Linked DNA regions of Homo sapiens: region 2 is linked to region 1. The links are contacts of gene promoters, found by promoter capture Hi-C in blood cells and fetal thymus (Javierre and others, 2016). All regions are on one chromosome and are shown on one strand. Each heading gives the region's core, a stretch centred on a gene start or on the middle of the fragment in contact. The rest is flanking DNA. Distances are from core to core; before and after follow the strand shown. Region 1 holds the start of ANKRD61 (ankyrin repeat domain 61). Region 2 overlaps USP42 (ubiquitin specific peptidase 42).

Region 1 (3,831 bases), core at 620-3,119:
CCTCAACATTCAACCATTCCCCAGGCCAGCTGCATCAGAACTCCTGCGGGTGAACGCAAGCATCAGTATTATTAAAAGTCCCAAGGCTATTCTAAATTTGGAGAATATTAATGTAGAGCATGCTTTGTACACAAGTGCTTCCCAACCCTTACTGCACATCATTACCCAAGAAGCTCTTAGAAATGACTGTCCTCGGCCGGGCACGGTGGCTCACACCTGTAATCTCAGCACTTTAGGAGGCTGAGGCGGGCAAATCGCCTGAGGTCAGGAGTTCAAGACCAGGCTGGCCAACATGGTGAAACCCCATCTCTACTAAAAATACAAAAATTAGCCAGGTGTGGTGGTGCATGCCTGTAATCCCAGCTACTCGGGAGGCTGAGGCAGAATTGCTTGAACCTGGGAGGCAGAGGTTGCAGTGAGACGAGATCGCATCACTGCACTCCAGCCTGGGAAACAGAGTGAGACTCTGTCTCAAAAAAAAGAAAAGAAAAGAAACGACTGTCCTGTCGAGTCCAGAGACGTGATTTTCTATGTGTGAGAAAACATTTTAAATGGCTTTTTCAAGGCATGATAAATCTAAGCACCGGCAGCCAGCCTGCAAATGTAACAAACCACATGGCTCATCCACCTGGAAGATCACAATAAGTGAACAGGATGTAGAGGAGTCAGCCCATAAAAGGGAAGAAAGTTTCATTACTGGGAAATCCAAACTTAAGCGGGAAAGGGACCAGGGTATAACCTTCTAAGGGGATAATGCAACTTAGGCGACGTCCGGGAAGATCGTAACCCTGTAGTCCTTGACCAGTGAGGAACTGAGGTAGGGTCTTGCATGCTAGGAGATAAATCACCTGTTGTAACTGCCCTGGGTGTACCTGCCTACCAGACACGTGACCTTGCAAGAGGGCTATTAAAAGTCTCACTTTCACTGTTCTTTGTGCCTCTAAGTTCACTCTTTGGGTTTGGACGGGTGAGCATGTTTCTCGCACTACGAAAAAACTGATTTTTTTCTTTAAGACAGAGTCTTGCTGTGTCGCCAGGCTGGAGTGCAGTGGTGCCATCTCGGCTCACTGTAACCTCCACCTCTCAGGTTCAAACAATTCTCCTGCCTCAACCTCCTGAGTAGCTGGGACTACAGGCGCACGCCACCACAGCCAGCTACTTTTTGTATTTTTAGTAGCGACAGGGTTTCACCATGTTGGCCAGTATGGTCTTGATCTCTTGACCTCATGTTCTGCCCGCCCTGGCCTCTCAAAGTGCTGGGATTACAGGCATGAGCGACCGCACCCAGCCAACTTTGATATTTTTTAAAAGCTCCCAGATAACTCATATGTATTAGCCAGGGTTGGGAACTAATAGATCACACTAAATGGCTTTATTTAAGCAAAGAGTACAGACCCAAAACATCTCCCAAACTATTCCTATGCCGGAGAAAAACTGAACCCATAATGGGGAGAGGGAAGATTCTATTATAATAAAAACTAAAAAATAACTTAAGGTTAAAAGTTTTCTTACTTTAAAAGTAATAATTTTAACTTTGTATTTTAATGTATAAATTCCTCTGTTTTAGCTTTGATCATTGTTTCAGCTACACTTGAACTGGAGAGAAATCAGAAATAAAGGTGTAAGATGATAGCTTGAATATGTTTTTATGATAGAGTAGAAAACCCTAAAAACTGCTGACATTTGACATTCTATGATCAAGGAACAAAGTCTGGACGCTTGGTTCCAAACTGATGGATTGCCTTCACAGATCCAATTCTCGACAAATTCTAGAACAGTTCTAGAACTGAACTGAAAGAATCATCACAAAGAGACTGAAACTGACCAATTCCATAACAACATTTTCCCCTGAAGTCTTAAGTTTTTCTCATGGGGAATATAACCAGGAAAGGAAGCAGAGACCTGGTGGTTGACAGTGCCAAGTCCCTGGAAGATGGCCCATCTGCAGCACTTCACTCGAAACTCTATGAAGCCATCATGAGAGAAGACTGCACTACGATCGAGGTACTCCTGAGAAATCACCCTGTCAACCAGCCCATCACCATTCTGCCCAACTCCGCCAGCAACAGATTACTTCTGACCCAGGTACCCTCTTTTCTGCTCAGTCACTTCTGGAAAAAAGTCAGGCTGCTTAGAAAGAAGCATGATCTAAAGCTGGTGAACCCACTAAGCTCACGGCCCTTATGAGAATGAGACACGACTCCAGCTCACTCCACACACACTGCAGTGCTCCCCAAAGCCTGCAAAGCCTCCCCTACACATGTCACACACAAACCAACATGAGAAAACACCAGACCCTGTGTGACTGGAAGACCATTCATGTCATCTCTCAAACATACCCACAGTGATGATCTCCATGTGGTCAAATTAGTTTTTCCCTTTTTTGGCCAGACGCAGTAGCTCATGCCTGTAATCCCAGCACTTTGGAAGGCTGAGGTGGGTGGATCACCTGAGGTCAGGAGTTCGAGACCAGCCTGGCCAGCAGGGCAAAACCCCGTCTCTACTAAAAATACAAAAATTAGCCGGGCTTGGTGGCAGGAGCCTGTAATCTCAGCTACTCGGACGGCTGAGGCAGGAGAATTGCTTGAACCCAGGAGGCAGAGGTTGCAGTGAGCCAAGATCGTACCACTGCACTCTCTAGCCTGGATGACAGAGCAAGACTCCATCTCAAACAAACAAACAAAAAATAGTTTTTCCCTTTTTAATATATACATTTTCATTTTCTAAATTTTTATACAATGATTATTACTTTTACAATTAAATTCAAAAAGGAAGTCACCCTCCCTTGTACCCTACTGTCTTATCTTGCAGCCACGGTGTGAAACCACTACTTACACGTGTGTATTTTAAGAGCTGGCACAAACAGCTCTGCTAATCATAGACAGAACATATGCTGCGTTATATTTGAAAACCCTGAAGATTCAGGTTTTACTGCTGATAATACGACTTTGGCAACGACACAGCACCTACTTGTCCATCACCCTGTGGGTTAATTTAAGGAATAAGTGACTTCATAGCAAGTACCCTTAATATCACACCACAGGCTCTTCTGAAGAATCAACTTTCAAAAATTTCCAAAGCTTTTGAGTGTTATTTCTGTTGCCTCAGTAAATGTGCATTTCTGTGAAACACAGATTTTATAGGATGGAATTCACTGAATTTTGATCATTTAAAACAGGTAGTAGAAAGGAAACTTTCAATGCACATACCAGAAAAAGAGTGAGCCAATGAGACACTAAATAAATGTATTGCCTTTGAAACGGCAAGCTAACACAAACAGTATTTTTAACTACACAGGGCCACTTGTAATGTGTTTTGTTTTCCCTCCAAAGCCGACAGAGTCTATCATCCCCATCCATCTGGCTGCCAAGTACCACAAGGCCCAGAGTCTGCTCTGCCTGTTACGGCACGGTGCTGACCCAGAAGTCAGGTAAGTTAACTCCACCGAAAATCATTTCTTTTTTTTTCTTTTTTGTTTTGAGGCAGGGGTCTCGCTCTGTTGCCCAGGCTGGAGTGCAATGGCACAATCTCGCCTCACTGCAACCTCTACTTCCTGGGTTCAAGAGCTTCTCCCACCTCAGCCTCCCGAGTAGCTGGGATTACAGGTGTGCGTCACCATGCCCAGCTAACATTTGTATTTTTAGTAGAGACAGGGTTTCACCATGTTGGCCAGGCTGGTCTTGAACTCCTGGCCTCAAGTGATCCACCTGCCTCGGCCTCCCAAAGTGCTGGGATTAACAGCCCTCAGCCACAGCACCCAGCTTCACTGACAATCATTTCTAAGTGAGGATATACCTGATATAGATTTTTTTTTCAGTTCATACATTTTTT
Region 2 (3,306 bases), core at 606-3,105, 110 kb after region 1:
AACTATTACCTACATTTGGGCTTCATTGTCTGTTTTGTTGGTACCCGTGGTTGTGAGGGGATACAGGGAGAGCCTGTATAATCTGAAATCCAAAGAGGACTTCCTGCTAGACTTTGCCAGTTTTCACCAAAGTTCATTTTGTCTTGTTTGTTTGTTTTCTGATTGGTAGTACACTGAATTTTCCCATTTTCTTCCCACTTTCTGAAGATTGAAAGTGGTCAAAAACTAAATAGCATGCAAGAGAAATAAACGATCCATTCCTGAATTATTAAAATTAAATAATCGGCCGAGTGTGGTGGCTCACGCCCGTAATCCCAGCACTTTAGAAGGCCTAGTTGGGCATATCACTTCAAGCCGGGAGTTTGAGACCACTCTGGCGAACGTGGCAAAGCCCTGTTTCTACTAAAAATACTAAAATTAGCTGGGTGTGGTGGCAGGCACTTGTAATCCTAGCTACTCGGGAGGCTGAGGCAGGAGAATCGCTTGAACCTAGGAGGCAGAGGTTGCAGTGAGCCGAGATTGTGCCACTGCACTCCAGCCTGGGCAACAGAGTCAGATTCTGTCTCAAAAAAAAAAAAATTATGTTCAGAGTTGTCATTTTGTTAGTCTGTCCTTTGATGGGTTTGAAGAATTCACTTAATATAGATCCTGACTTGTTAAAAGAAAATAATAAATGCAGCAGGATGGCCTTAAATACACTTAGATTCCGCTATCCTCCCGGTTAACCATGCCCTTTGAAAGGTGGCTAGGCCAGGTGCAGTGGCTCATGCCTATAATTCTAGCACTTTGGGAGGCCAAGCTGGGTGGATCACGAGGTCAGGCGTTCAAGACCAGCCTAGCCAAGATGGTGAAACCCCTGTCTCTACTAAAAATACAAAAATTAGCTGGGCGTGGTGGCGCACCTGTAATCCCGGCTACTCGGGAGGCTGAGGCAGGACAATCACTTGAACCCGGGAGGCGGAGCTTCCAGTGAGCTGAGATCGTGTCACTGCACTCCAGCCTGGGTGATAGAGTGGCACGCCATCTCAAAAAAAAAAAAAAGATGGCTAAATGCACTAGGTTTTTTAAATGCATTAGGTTTTTGCTAGAATATCACAGGGCTCAGGTGTTCTGTGGGTCTCCCCTCCTAGGAAGCTCTAAGTACCCTCTACCTGAATATGTGGAATGATCTGTGCCCTCGGAAATGTTTCTCCTGTTTCCATTTCCTTCTAGGATGTGAAATACCCTGAGTATCTTGATATTCGGCCATATATGTCTCAACCCAACGGAGAGCCAATTGTCTACGTCTTGTATGCAGTGCTGGTCCACACTGGTTTTAATTGCCATGCTGGCCATTACTTCTGCTACATAAAAGTAAGCTGTGCAGATTTGCTATTAACTATTGTTACATACATGCTATAAGACAGCAGTAGCATTCTTGGGGTAGGGAGAGGTGGAACTTTTACAGTTAAAATGTGAATACCCGAGGTAAAAATATTTCTCTTGGCCGGGCGCAGTGGCTTACTCCTGTAATCCCTACACTTTGGGAGACTGAGGCTGGGGGATCACTTGAGGTCAGGAGTTCAAGACCAACCTGGCCAACAGGGTGAAACCCCGCCTCTATTAAAAATACAAAAATTATCTGCGTGTGGTGGCACCTGCCAGTAATCCCAGCAGCTCCGGAGGCTGAGGCAGGAGAATCGCTTGAACCCAGGAGGTGGAGATTGCAAGATCACGCCACTGCACTCCAGCCTGGGTGACAGAGTGAGACTCCATCTCAAAAAAAAAGAAAGAAATATTTCTCTTGACTATGTTCCATGTTTAATTAAATCTAATCTCTCTCTTTTATTGGCTCTCATTTATAGGCTAGCAATGGCCTCTGGTATCAAATGAATGACTCCATTGTATCTACCAGTGATATTAGATCGGTACTCAGCCAACAAGCCTATGTGCTCTTTTATATCAGGTATTGTCATGAAAACAAATTGCCAGATTTTCTGGTATGTCATTTCTTCTTGTCTTATCAACATGTTTGAATTCAATATTCAGTGTTTTAAAAAAAAAAAAAAACCCAGCAGCTTAAAGATCAACTCTAGCCTGGGCATGGTGCCTCACGCCTATAATCCTAGCACTTTGGGCGGCCAAGATGGAAGGATCACTTGAGCCCAGGAGTTCGAGACCGACCAGCCTGGGCAACATAGTGAGACCACATGTCTACAAAATACGAAAAAATTAGCCAGGTGTGGTGTTGTGGGCCTGTGGTCTTATCTGCTCCGAAAGTTGAGGTGGGAGGATTACCTGAGCCTGGGGAGGCCGAGGCTGCAGTAAGCCATGATTGAGCCACTGCATTCCAGCCTGAGTGACAGAGCAAGACTGTCTCAAAAAAAAACCAAAAACCATCAACTCTGCCATGTGCCTGGAGAGTAAGAAAGGTAGTGTCTGAGCGGGATGATGAGTTTGCTCCGCATCGCACTCTGTGGCCATGAGCACTGAAGGTGCAGCTGCAGGGAGAGGTGGTGGCTGACAAGGGTGGGCTTCTGCTGCGGGCAGTAATGGAGTGGGCCAGGAGCCACAGGACAATGAGTGGAGACCTCAGGAAGGGACCTCTGAGCACCTGGCGTGGTCACAGCCAGCACCTCCCAACCTGGAGCACAGGTCAGTTGCCTTCCAGGCCAAGGCCAGCACCCGCACCCAGCTCTGTCCTGTTGTGGCTGCATACGCTTTTCACTCACTCACTCGCTCCATTTTTGGAAAAAATGTTTGATAGCTGAAAATCAAGAATATTCTCAAATGTCCAACTGGCAGAATGCTCATGTCTGCACATTGAAATATTAAACACTGGCATTGGATTTCGGCAGTTGGGCTGAAGCACAGATGATGATCAGAGGAGGCCTCAGGCCAAGTTGAGGGGTAGGATTTTGTTTCTAACTTTTTTGGACACTAGATTTTCCACAGTGGCATATATTTATAATTAGAAAAATATAAGCCTGGGCAACAAAGCGAGACCCCATTTCTACAGAAAATAAAAAAATGAGCCAGGCGTGGTGGTGCATGTCTGTGGTCCCAGCTACTCAGGAGGCTGAGGCAGGAGGGCAAGGCCACAGTGAGCAATGGCTGTTCCTCTGCAGTCCAGCCTGGGCGACGCAGCAAGACCCTGTCTCAAAAAAAGGAAAATATAAATAAACAGAAAAGAAATACCTTTCAGATGAAACAGCATCTTCAGAAAACACAGTTTAAAGAACGTCATTTACCCAGTTATCCTTGTTGTCTCCTGATCTGAGTGCCTGACATTAGCCTGAAGGAGGGGATGTGTATAGCTCCATACTG

What was found. The method cuts DNA at HindIII sites, captures the fragments that hold promoters and counts their contacts. A CHiCAGO score of 5 or more calls a contact.
Region 2: a fragment that was not itself captured here is called in contact with the fragment with the promoter of ANKRD61 in region 1 in 2 of 17 cell types (M1 macrophages and endothelial precursors); the score reaches 6.1 in M1 macrophages.

The regions. Positions count from the first base shown.
Region 1 is chr7:6,029,507-6,033,337 of GRCh38, forward strand. It overlaps ANKRD61 (ankyrin repeat domain 61), which reads left to right and starts at 1,870. Exons shown (of 3, transcript NM_001271700.2): 1 at 1,870-2,085; 2 at 3,333-3,430. The coding sequence starts at 1,870. All of the region lies in intron 11 of EIF2AK1 (eukaryotic translation initiation factor 2 alpha kinase 1), which reads right to left. The HindIII fragment of the contact is 4,913 bases long and covers 1-3,078 here.
Region 2 is chr7:6,144,304-6,147,609 of GRCh38, forward strand. It overlaps USP42 (ubiquitin specific peptidase 42), which reads left to right. Exons shown (of 18, transcript NM_032172.3): 10 at 1,213-1,353; 11 at 1,845-1,945. Among named protein-coding and RNA genes, the nearest start is that of USP42, 41 kb to the left of the region's middle. The HindIII fragment of the contact is 3,832 bases long and covers 1-3,306 here.